3 separate regions of the Homo sapiens genome follow, and regions 2 and 3 are each linked to region 1. Evidence: promoter capture Hi-C in human tissues and cell types (Jung and others, 2019). All regions are on one chromosome and are shown on one strand. Each heading gives the region's core, a stretch centred on a gene start or on the middle of the fragment in contact. The rest is flanking DNA. Distances are from core to core; before and after follow the strand shown.

The links. Contacts are between HindIII fragments. The study calls those that stand out against the background at their distance.
Region 2: a fragment that was not itself captured here is called in contact with the fragment with the promoter of AKAP6 in region 1 in 2 of the 25 tissues and cell types used here (dorsolateral prefrontal cortex and hippocampus).
Region 3: a contact is called between a fragment that was not itself captured here and the fragment with the promoter of AKAP6 in region 1, in 1 of the 25 tissues and cell types used here (hippocampus).

The regions. Positions count from the first base shown.
Region 1 is chr14:32,327,767-32,330,862 of GRCh38, forward strand. AKAP6 (A-kinase anchoring protein 6) reads left to right here and starts at 1,532. Exons shown (of 14, transcript NM_004274.5): 1 at 1,532-1,642. The HindIII fragment of the contact is 5,497 bases long and covers 1-2,514 here.
Region 2 is chr14:32,543,813-32,546,908 of GRCh38, forward strand. AKAP6 (A-kinase anchoring protein 6) reads left to right here. Exons shown (of 14, transcript NM_004274.5): 4 at 1,418-3,096. Among named protein-coding and RNA genes, the nearest start is that of AKAP6, 220 kb to the left of the region's middle. The HindIII fragment of the contact is 5,736 bases long and covers 1-3,096 here.
Region 3 is chr14:32,476,433-32,479,528 of GRCh38, forward strand. All of the region lies in intron 2 of AKAP6 (A-kinase anchoring protein 6), which reads left to right. Among named protein-coding and RNA genes, the nearest start is that of AKAP6, 150 kb to the left of the region's middle. The HindIII fragment of the contact is 5,364 bases long and covers 1-3,096 here.

The sequences.
Region 1 (3,096 bases), core at 282-2,781:
TCCCCTTGTGTGTGGCATGTGGTCTGAGGTCTAAGATAAAGGGAGGGAGTCAGGCTCTGCTGATGCCACAAAGGACCTAAGCAGGCAGATTCACCTCCTGCTTTTGGTCTCTTAATTCCTCTCTAGATGAAGCAAGAACAAGTCTGTCTTCCCATCTAGGGCAGGGTTGCTCTGTGCGAGGCTGATGGTGCACGCTGCTGGGATATTGGCACTTCTCAGGCATTTTATTAGCTCCTGTTTACAGAGACACTGCCTGAATTCCTTCTGCCACTCATCCCACACCGCCTATGCTGGTGGTTAACAGTGCCATTTTAAAATCTCAAGCAGGAGGAGACAACATAATTGTCTCATGTTTTAAGCTTTTGGAATGTTGTTCTTTTTCAGAGTTGTGAAGACGGAGTGGATACAGGTCAACTTGATTCTGCTTTTCTCTATCAATGGCCTGCAAATATTAAATATGCAAAACATAGGCTGCTCTGTCCATATCTCCTTCTCCCCAGTTCTCACCACATGACGTTGATTTCTGCTCAGGACTGGAAAGAAGTGATTGCTTTAGATTTGCTTTTCTTTTACCAACTGGAGAAATGCCTTACCGTGTCTTGTTTAAATGTGGCTTTTCACACAGTTCCAGCTTTTGGGGTTGGGGAGGGGCACAAATAATCTGTGTGGTAGGCAGTTTTATTGTTCAGAAAAGAAGAAAACAGACCCCAATGTTTGGAATGCCAACGATTTAGGAAGTTTCTAGCAGGTCTGCTACTTGTTCCAACCACTAGGTTTGATCCCAGAAAAGACTCACATGCGTTTTGGCCATGAGAAGGAGGGGTTCCCTGCAGGCCAAAGGAAGGGTCAGTAGAAGTTGAGGGTGGTGTGTTGTGCCCCTCTAGATTCCAAACTTCCCTTTGCTGCCTATCTGATGACCAGGTGAAAGCTGGGTTTATTCTGCATGGGAAGGTTCTGTGGGTTGGTGTTCATCAGGGAAAATAACCAGGACAGACTTCATTGGCCAAGGGTTTGCCCATGTTTTGAGAATTAAAACTTGTTTACTTGAGAGTTAGAGTCATTTGGTCAGCTGTTTATATTCCATTTTTAATTATTTTTGTGCTCGCTGTTTTGTTCTTTTGGTCTTTGACAGATGAGCAAAAATTCTTTTTAATAACTTTTAAAAAGCTATCCCAGTGCTGACCAGGGAGGAAAAAGTGATCAAATTGTCTAATAAGGAAACATTGTACATTTCAGTTTTTATTTGCTTAGTACTAATTCTATTTTCTCCTCCCACCTTTTTTTTCTAAATGTATAACAACAAAGGGGGAGATAATTTTTGTTTTTTCCAAAATGCTTTCAGGGAAATCCCTTTTAAACCTATGGATTTTAGTCCAATGAGGAATCCTCTTCCTTTGGTCTAAATTTTGCATATCGTCTGTTTCTTACAGGGCTTCCGTATTGTCTCAGGCTCCACTGGAAATGCAGCAAGGATTCCTAGCACATCCCAGTTGCCATAGCAACAGCAGTCTTTCCCATAATGAGCTGCATCATCTGAACTGATGTCACAGCATCATGCAGCAGGTCAAACAAGGCATCTCCTAGTATTGCATCCTACAGATGTGCTGTAAACATCAAAAGAAGACGGTGGGATCAGGAGATGGTGAGTGTTAAATGTCTGGGCCTTAATTGCACGGCTGTTTTGTTGGTTAGTCGGTGTCTGCTAAGGCGGAGATTGGGGGATGTTGTCTCTGCTTAAAATGGACTGGGGAAAGAAGGGCTGTTTTACCTAAATCGTTTTTCAGGCTGCCGGGTTAAGACAAAGGCCTGTAAGAGTCATATAGGAATTAAAATATGTAGAATTATTCTTGCTCCAGCTCTGTCTGTTATTTTTAAGTGTTCTTACAGAATTTTTCATAAACATAAGATGATTTTTCAATTGCAAAACCCCAGATAAGCTTTAAAATGAGTAGTTAACAGTATTTAAGCATTGTAAAAATATAGATTTCTTTTTGGGAGGCAGAGCTAATTGGCCCCCTCTTTGCTCTTGTGAATTATGAAATATTCAGTGATTTGCAGTATGAAATTCATTATTTACCTCGGTTGGGTTTCAGTTTCTTCATGGCAAGGAACAAATGCTGAATAAGCATTTGACATAACCCTGATGTGAAAGGGGATCTCTTGCATATTCAAGACAGAATTTATTAAAAGCATAAAAACCTAAACCAAATGAAATTATTTGAGCCTTTTGATCTATATGGTAGTTCTTCAACCCATGTCCTTCAGAGTTAGTTGAAAGACTGCCACATATTTTTCCATCTCTAGCTAGTCTCTGAAATAGCTGGAGTTGTTTGCAGGCTGACTTGTAACTGAGAAAGGAACAAGTCTCCTCTCTGCGGCAGTTGCAGTGAAGGGTAACCCTGGGAGAGCCTCTGAAGTGGCAGTGGTGTTGCCATCCCTTGCTTAACTTTAACAAAAATCTGGGTATGATGAATAAATATCAGGGTCCTCAGTGGTTGTAGGGATTACAGACCTCTGGACTCAGTCATAACCTCAACTCAATTCCAAAACTCTAAACACGTATCATTTTCATTTCAACTCCTAGCTCTGTTTTTAGGCATCTTTATTATTATTATTATTTTCTAAAAAATTAGTCTGACAGTGTCAGATAAGGAGCAGAATGTTGCCTTTTGTTTTGGGAAATGAAATGGATTTCCCTGGTACAGCTGATTGCTACTAGGGGAGAGAAAGGAGGAGGCACATGTCAGTTCAATTGATCAATATGTCCACTTAGAATCAGGGAGTGGTCTTGTGGCTTAATGCTGCCAAATTGATAGTTTTTACTCAAAAAGTCTTACACGAAAGAATGGCAACCATTGAATTCCTCTTCTTTTAGTCTGTTTATTGGGGCTAAAGAGATATATCATGGAAAGCAGGAAAAGCAATACCTTTAGCTAGCTTGGAGTGATTTTTTTTTTTTTTTTTTTTTTTTTTTTTTGCACAGAGTTAAGTATGCTAGTCCCATTAGGCACCAGCCAGAGGAAAGGCCTCAGGTTTTAATTTGTTTGTTTATACCACATCACGCACATGCTTGCTACTCTCAGTCCTTTAAGCTTA
Region 2 (3,096 bases), core at 198-2,697, 220 kb after region 1:
CAAGCTACTCTTATGTAAGAAAGGGACAATAGTACAGACGGCAGAAGAAAATTTTAAGGATTAAATGAAAAAGTAATTGTAGTAATCAACCATCATCATTTATAGATGAGGACTCTGAGGCTTAGAAAAGTTAAATAAGGCTTTTTGTCTGTTTATCTAGATGTTATGGAATGAGAGTGAGTGGAGTAGGAGATAAAGGCAGGGTGAAGGTCTGAAGGGAGAGAACATTCCAAAAACAAAAACAAACAAATGAGCAGTAAAACCAGATATAAGATCCTGGAGAAGCCAGATCTGGGAAAACCTGGTTGAAAGGATCACAGGGTCCAGCAGCCACATGGAATCCAGCTTCAATTGGCTCACCACAGTTCTTCCTCCAGAAAAAAAGGAGATCTGGGGATGTAACAACCCTTCACTTTTCAGTTTTCTTTTTTCATTTCCTAAGGGGGCTAGGTTAGATCAGTCTGTTATTTAGCCAGTAGGCAAAATAGGATAGTTCCCAGGGCTCTTCTACCCCAAACAAATCATCAGTGAAAATCTTCCCATTTGTTGTATGAAATCAGAAACTGCATTAGTAATGGGACAAAAGCCTTAATTACAGAATTAAAGATTTAACAAATTAAAAATAGTTAATCGTAATGCTGTTTTTTTAGTGTGAGGGAGTTTTAAATCAAATCAGCCTATCCAGAATTATGAATAGTAAGAAAGATGGGCACTTAACAGCTCGCAAACACCAGTGGGAGCAGGACTTGGGGAGAAAAACATGCAGAGGGAGGAGCTGATGCTATCTCTAATGATAAAGTTTGGACATTCATTAATTTTCTCCTTCAAAAGGGTGGGGCCAAACAGAAACTGGTCTTGAACTATTATGTATTTGCAAATTCAGTAGTTTACCTTCCTTTGATTCATCAATATATGTTTAACACAACTGGCTTATTATAATTAATTATTCTACTTAAAAATATTTATTGAGCATCTACCATGAGTTAGCCACTGTGGTAGGTACTGGAATGATAGCAAAAAGCAAAACAGACATTCGTGGAGATTTTACTTTTACATTATTTTGATCCCAGAAATTGTATTACTTAAGGCTTTGTTTATGAAATTCTTATTAAATGAATAATATATTATTTTTAAGTTGAAAATTAAGTCAAGAATGGATTTTTTTGGCTTGCTCTTGACATTTCTGTTAAGGCTGTATACTCCAGATTAGTGAAAAATCTTCAGGTGTTTAAGAACAAGATACTATATAAAGCAATGTGGTAATTGATTAATATCCCTTTGTGTATGTCAAACCACAAGCAATAGGGACCAATACATTTGACCTTTATAGTGCCCTGTACTGCAATTTCATTTACATAGCAGCTGATGTTGTAATTGATGTTGCATTTACTGAAACCATTGCCATTGTCTGTTTCAGGGCCGGCTTGATTCTCTAACAGAAGTGGATGACTCAGGACAATTAACCATCAAATGTTCTCAAAATTACTTGTCTCTGGATTGTGGCATTACTGCATTCGAACTGTCTGACTACAGTCCAAGTGAGGATTTGCTCAGTGGGCTAGGTGACATGACCTCTAGCCAAGTCAAAACCAAACCCTTTGACTCTTGGAGCTACAGTGAGATGGAAAAGGAGTTTCCTGAGCTTATCCGAAGTGTTGGTTTACTTACGGTAGCTGCTGACTCTATCTCTACCAATGGCAGTGAAGCAGTTACTGAGGAGGTATCTCAAGTATCTCTCTCAGTAGACGACAAAGGTGGATGTGAGGAAGACAATGCTTCTGCAGTCGAAGAGCAACCAGGCTTAACACTGGGGGTGTCATCATCTTCAGGAGAAGCTCTGACAAATGCTGCTCAACCCTCCTCTGAGACTGTGCAGCAAGAATCCAGTTCCTCCTCCCATCATGATGCAAAGAATCAGCAGCCTGTTCCTTGTGAAAATGCAACCCCCAAACGAACCATCAGAGATTGCTTTAATTATAACGAGGACTCTCCCACGCAGCCTACATTGCCAAAAAGAGGACTTTTTCTTAAAGAGGAAACTTTTAAGAATGATCTGAAAGGCAATGGTGGAAAGAGGCAAATGGTTGATCTAAAGCCTGAGATGAGCAGAAGCACCCCTTCGCTAGTAGATCCTCCTGACAGATCCAAACTTTGCCTGGTATTGCAGTCTTCTTACCCCAACAGCCCTTCTGCTGCCAGCCAGTCTTATGAGTGTTTACACAAGGTGGGGAATGGGAACCTTGAAAACACAGTCAAATTTCACATTAAAGAAATTTCTTCCAGCCTGGGAAGGCTTAACGACTGCTATAAAGAGAAATCTCGACTTAAAAAGCCACACAAGACCTCAGAAGAGGTGCCTCCATGCCGAACACCTAAACGGGGGACTGGTTCAGGCAAACAAGCTAAAAATACAAAGAGCTCAGCAGTGCCAAATGGAGAGCTTTCTTATACTTCCAAGGCCATAGAGGGGCCACAAACAAATTCTGCTTCCACATCCTCACTTGAGCCTTGTAATCAGAGAAGTTGGAATGCCAAATTGCAATTGCAGTCAGAAACATCCAGTTCACCAGCTTTTACTCAGAGCAGTGAATCCTCTGTTGGCTCAGACAACATCATGTCTCCGGTGCCACTTCTTTCAAAACACAAAAGCAAAAAAGGTCAAGCCTCCTCTCCAAGTCACGTCACTAGGAATGGTGAGGTTGTGGAGGCCTGGTATGGCTCTGATGAATACCTAGCACTGCCCTCTCACCTTAAGCAGACAGAAGTATTGGCTTTGAAGTTGGAAAACCTAACAAAGCTTCTGCCTCAGAAACCCAGAGGAGAAACCATCCAGAATATTGATGACTGGGAACTGTCTGAAATGAATTCAGATTCTGAAATCTATCCAACCTATCATGTCAAAAAGAAGCATACAAGGCTAGGCAGGGTGTCTCCAAGCTCATCTAGTGACATAGCCTCTTCACTAGGGGAGAGCATTGAATCTGGGCCCCTGAGTGACATTCTTTCTGATGAGGAGTCCAGTATGCCTCTCGCTGGCATGAAAAAGTATGCTGATGAGAAGTCAGAAAGAGCTTCATCCTCTGAGAAAAATGAGAG
Region 3 (3,096 bases), core at 392-2,891, 150 kb after region 1:
AGCGAAGTAGGATCTGGAAGAGGTTTAAGTTGAACTTTCCTTGTGTGCATTATCCTCAAAGATATATTGCAATAAGATTTTTGTATAGAATGCAAGTCTCCTACTGGATTTTAGCCCTGTTTCCCATCGAATTTTATCTAGTCATATTTGACTTGTGTCAGATAAAGATTAAAACCTTCAGACACCGGGCCGCAAGTTGAAGATCTTTCTGAATCACAGTGCTAAAATAATAGGGAGGGATTTTCCGTAAGTGTTACCAAACTAAACTGGGATCCCCTTGCCTGGTGTAGCAAAGCCAAATACTGACATAGGGATTGCTGCAAGAGAAAGTGAAGCATTTATAGCAGGATGCCAAGCAAGGAGAATCAGCAGCTCACACTTAAGACCCAGCCTCCACAGTGGCTTACAAGTAAGGCCTTTTAAAGGTGAGGAGGCAGAGGTTATAGGCAAAGTCATCAATCAATACACAGAGGTTATACATTGGTTTGGCCTAAAGAGGTGGGATATCTTAAAGCGGGGTCTTACAAGTCATAGATAGATTCAAAGGTTTCCTGATTTGCAATTGGTTAAGGAGATGAAGCTTTATCTAAAAATTTGTGATCAGCAGAAAAGAAAGTTAGCTCTGGCTCATGGGTATGACCTCTTCCAGGCTCCTCAGGAAGAAATTTAGAACAAAGAACAGCAGTCAGAGTTCAGTCCTCAGTTCCCTTTTATCTGAGGTCTACATGCCAGTGGATCCATTTGGAAGGGGTCTGGGTTTCTGAAAAACAACTCACATTAAGATGTTATCTTTAATTTCTACAGGGAACATCTCATGACCCTAACTTCCTTGGCTATTGTTTTAAGCTACTGCTACCTTCTTGCTTACCAAGTTGCTCATTTACTTCTCAGGGCTAGCTAGGTGCCTGGAATTTCCATTGAAGGAGCTCCAGATCTTCCTTTATTTCCATGCCTGGCGGTGTTGAAGGGGTGTGGGAGAGAGGATAGCAGGCCCTTAAGAGGGGTCCTGGGTCCATCTTATACATAGAAGCAACTGAAGAGGAAAGCTGAGATTGGGGTTCGCAGTTCTCCCAAGCAGTGGCTGAGGCTGGCAGGTTGGAGCTCAACTCTTAGGCAACTTGGCTGTTATATGTATGTGAATGTCTGTCCTAACAAATGAATTTAGTGCTGCAATTTCAAGACGGTGTTGTATCACCGACTTGCAAAAATGCCTTCTGGCATATTTATTACTTTGGTTCCAAAAATCATATTTAGCCAGATCTTTTCAGTAATGAAGCATTTTTCTTTATAGCAATCTTGCTACAGCTGAGAGGCAATTTAGAATGGAGGTTAAGAGAGTTGATTCTTGGGGCCCAACTGTCTGGGTTCAGATTCCAGCTCCATTTCTTACAGGGTTACATAAAGCAGCTCACTGTGCCTCATTTTCTTCTTCTGTAAAATGATGGTCATGATAATAGCATCTACCTCATGGAGGTGCAATGAGCCTTAAGTTAGATAGTATTTGTGAAATTGCTTAAAATGATGCCTGGCCATAGTGAGCACTTTATAAATATAGCTAGAATGATGAGAGAGTCTTAGATTCTCCTGTCAACAGGCATTGCATGGCTGGGGTTGAGCCTCCCTAGTGAATCTTTCACATAGCTTGACAGACATAGTGGGCATCAGCCCTAAATGCCAAAAGCAAACTTGAAGATTCAGAGCAAAGGCATGTGCTGAGCATTTGCCTTGTATGGAGTTTTGGGTGCTCTTATTCAGTGATTAAGAGCCAACATTAGTGAATGTTGTTGCCAAGAAGTCACACACACACACACGTACGTGTGCCCACAAGCCAAGTCCCTGTGTGATTGCCATCAGATGTGTCAGGAAGACATCATGCCCAGATCTGTGAAACTATGGAATAGATGTCAGGGAAATGCGGGTCCATCTGCTAAACAGATGACTGAATGATTAAGTGAATAGTGAAAAGGAGAATTCCAAGCTCCAACTGGAGTCAAGATGTGAAGCAGCAGCAGTAACACTAACAGCCTGTGGGTGACAAGGATCAAAGATGGGCTAAATGTCTTCCGAGGGAAAACCAAATGTGGTAAAAGACACATCAGAGGAGACCTCTACCATAAAAAAAACAAAAATTTAATTCGATGCCAGAAAGAGATAATCAGCAAGGAGAAAACTAGATTTAGCCTGAAATATAGGTCTGCTCAAGGCTCGTCAGGGGAAAGAAGGTGAACATTCAGGTTGATTTTATAGAGAGCTCCTAGAACACATAAACTACATTGTGATGACTAAATATAAAGAAAGATGATTATCACTCTTTTAGGCAGGAAATGGGGATGGATAGAGACTGGCTGTGCAGATGGAGGAAGAGAAAATGGTTAGTGTGAGATAGGAAATGGAAGAGAAGCATAAACAGGATCCCTTGGTATAATGGCCAAGAATTCCTGATTTCTACTGTGTCCCCCCTTTGACTCAGAATAAAATTAGTATCCACAAAGAAAGAGATAGTCTTAAATTAGAGGGAGCTGAAGAAAATATTTTGGGGGGAGAGGAGATGAGAATTTGACATGTTAAAGGACTCCTAGGAATATAGGGAGAATGCTTTCTGAAAAGGAATTCCATTGACTCAGGGTTTAGACTTAGGAACATGTGACTTATACCAAGTAGACATCGACTCACTTTGATATTTTCAGTATTATATACAATTGCTTTTAAAAATTACTTCTATTGTTTTCCTTGATTACATGACTGATACATATTCTTATAAAAATGAGGAGAAAATAAAAATAATCAGTGGACCACATATGACTTACACCAAGTAAACATCGACTCCTCACTTTGATTGATTTTCAGTGTTGTATACAATTGCTTTTAAAAATTACTTCTACTGTTTTCTTGATTGTGTGATTAATACATATTCTTATAAAAATGAGAAGAAAATAAAAAATAATCAGTGGACCACTAGAGATATCCACTATTACCATTTTTGATATATTTACTTTTTCTAATTATTTACATGTAATAAAAAATTGGACTCAGATTCTATAACAATTTTATACATTGTTTCTTTAACTTAATATTATTTCCTGAATAGTTTTTTGT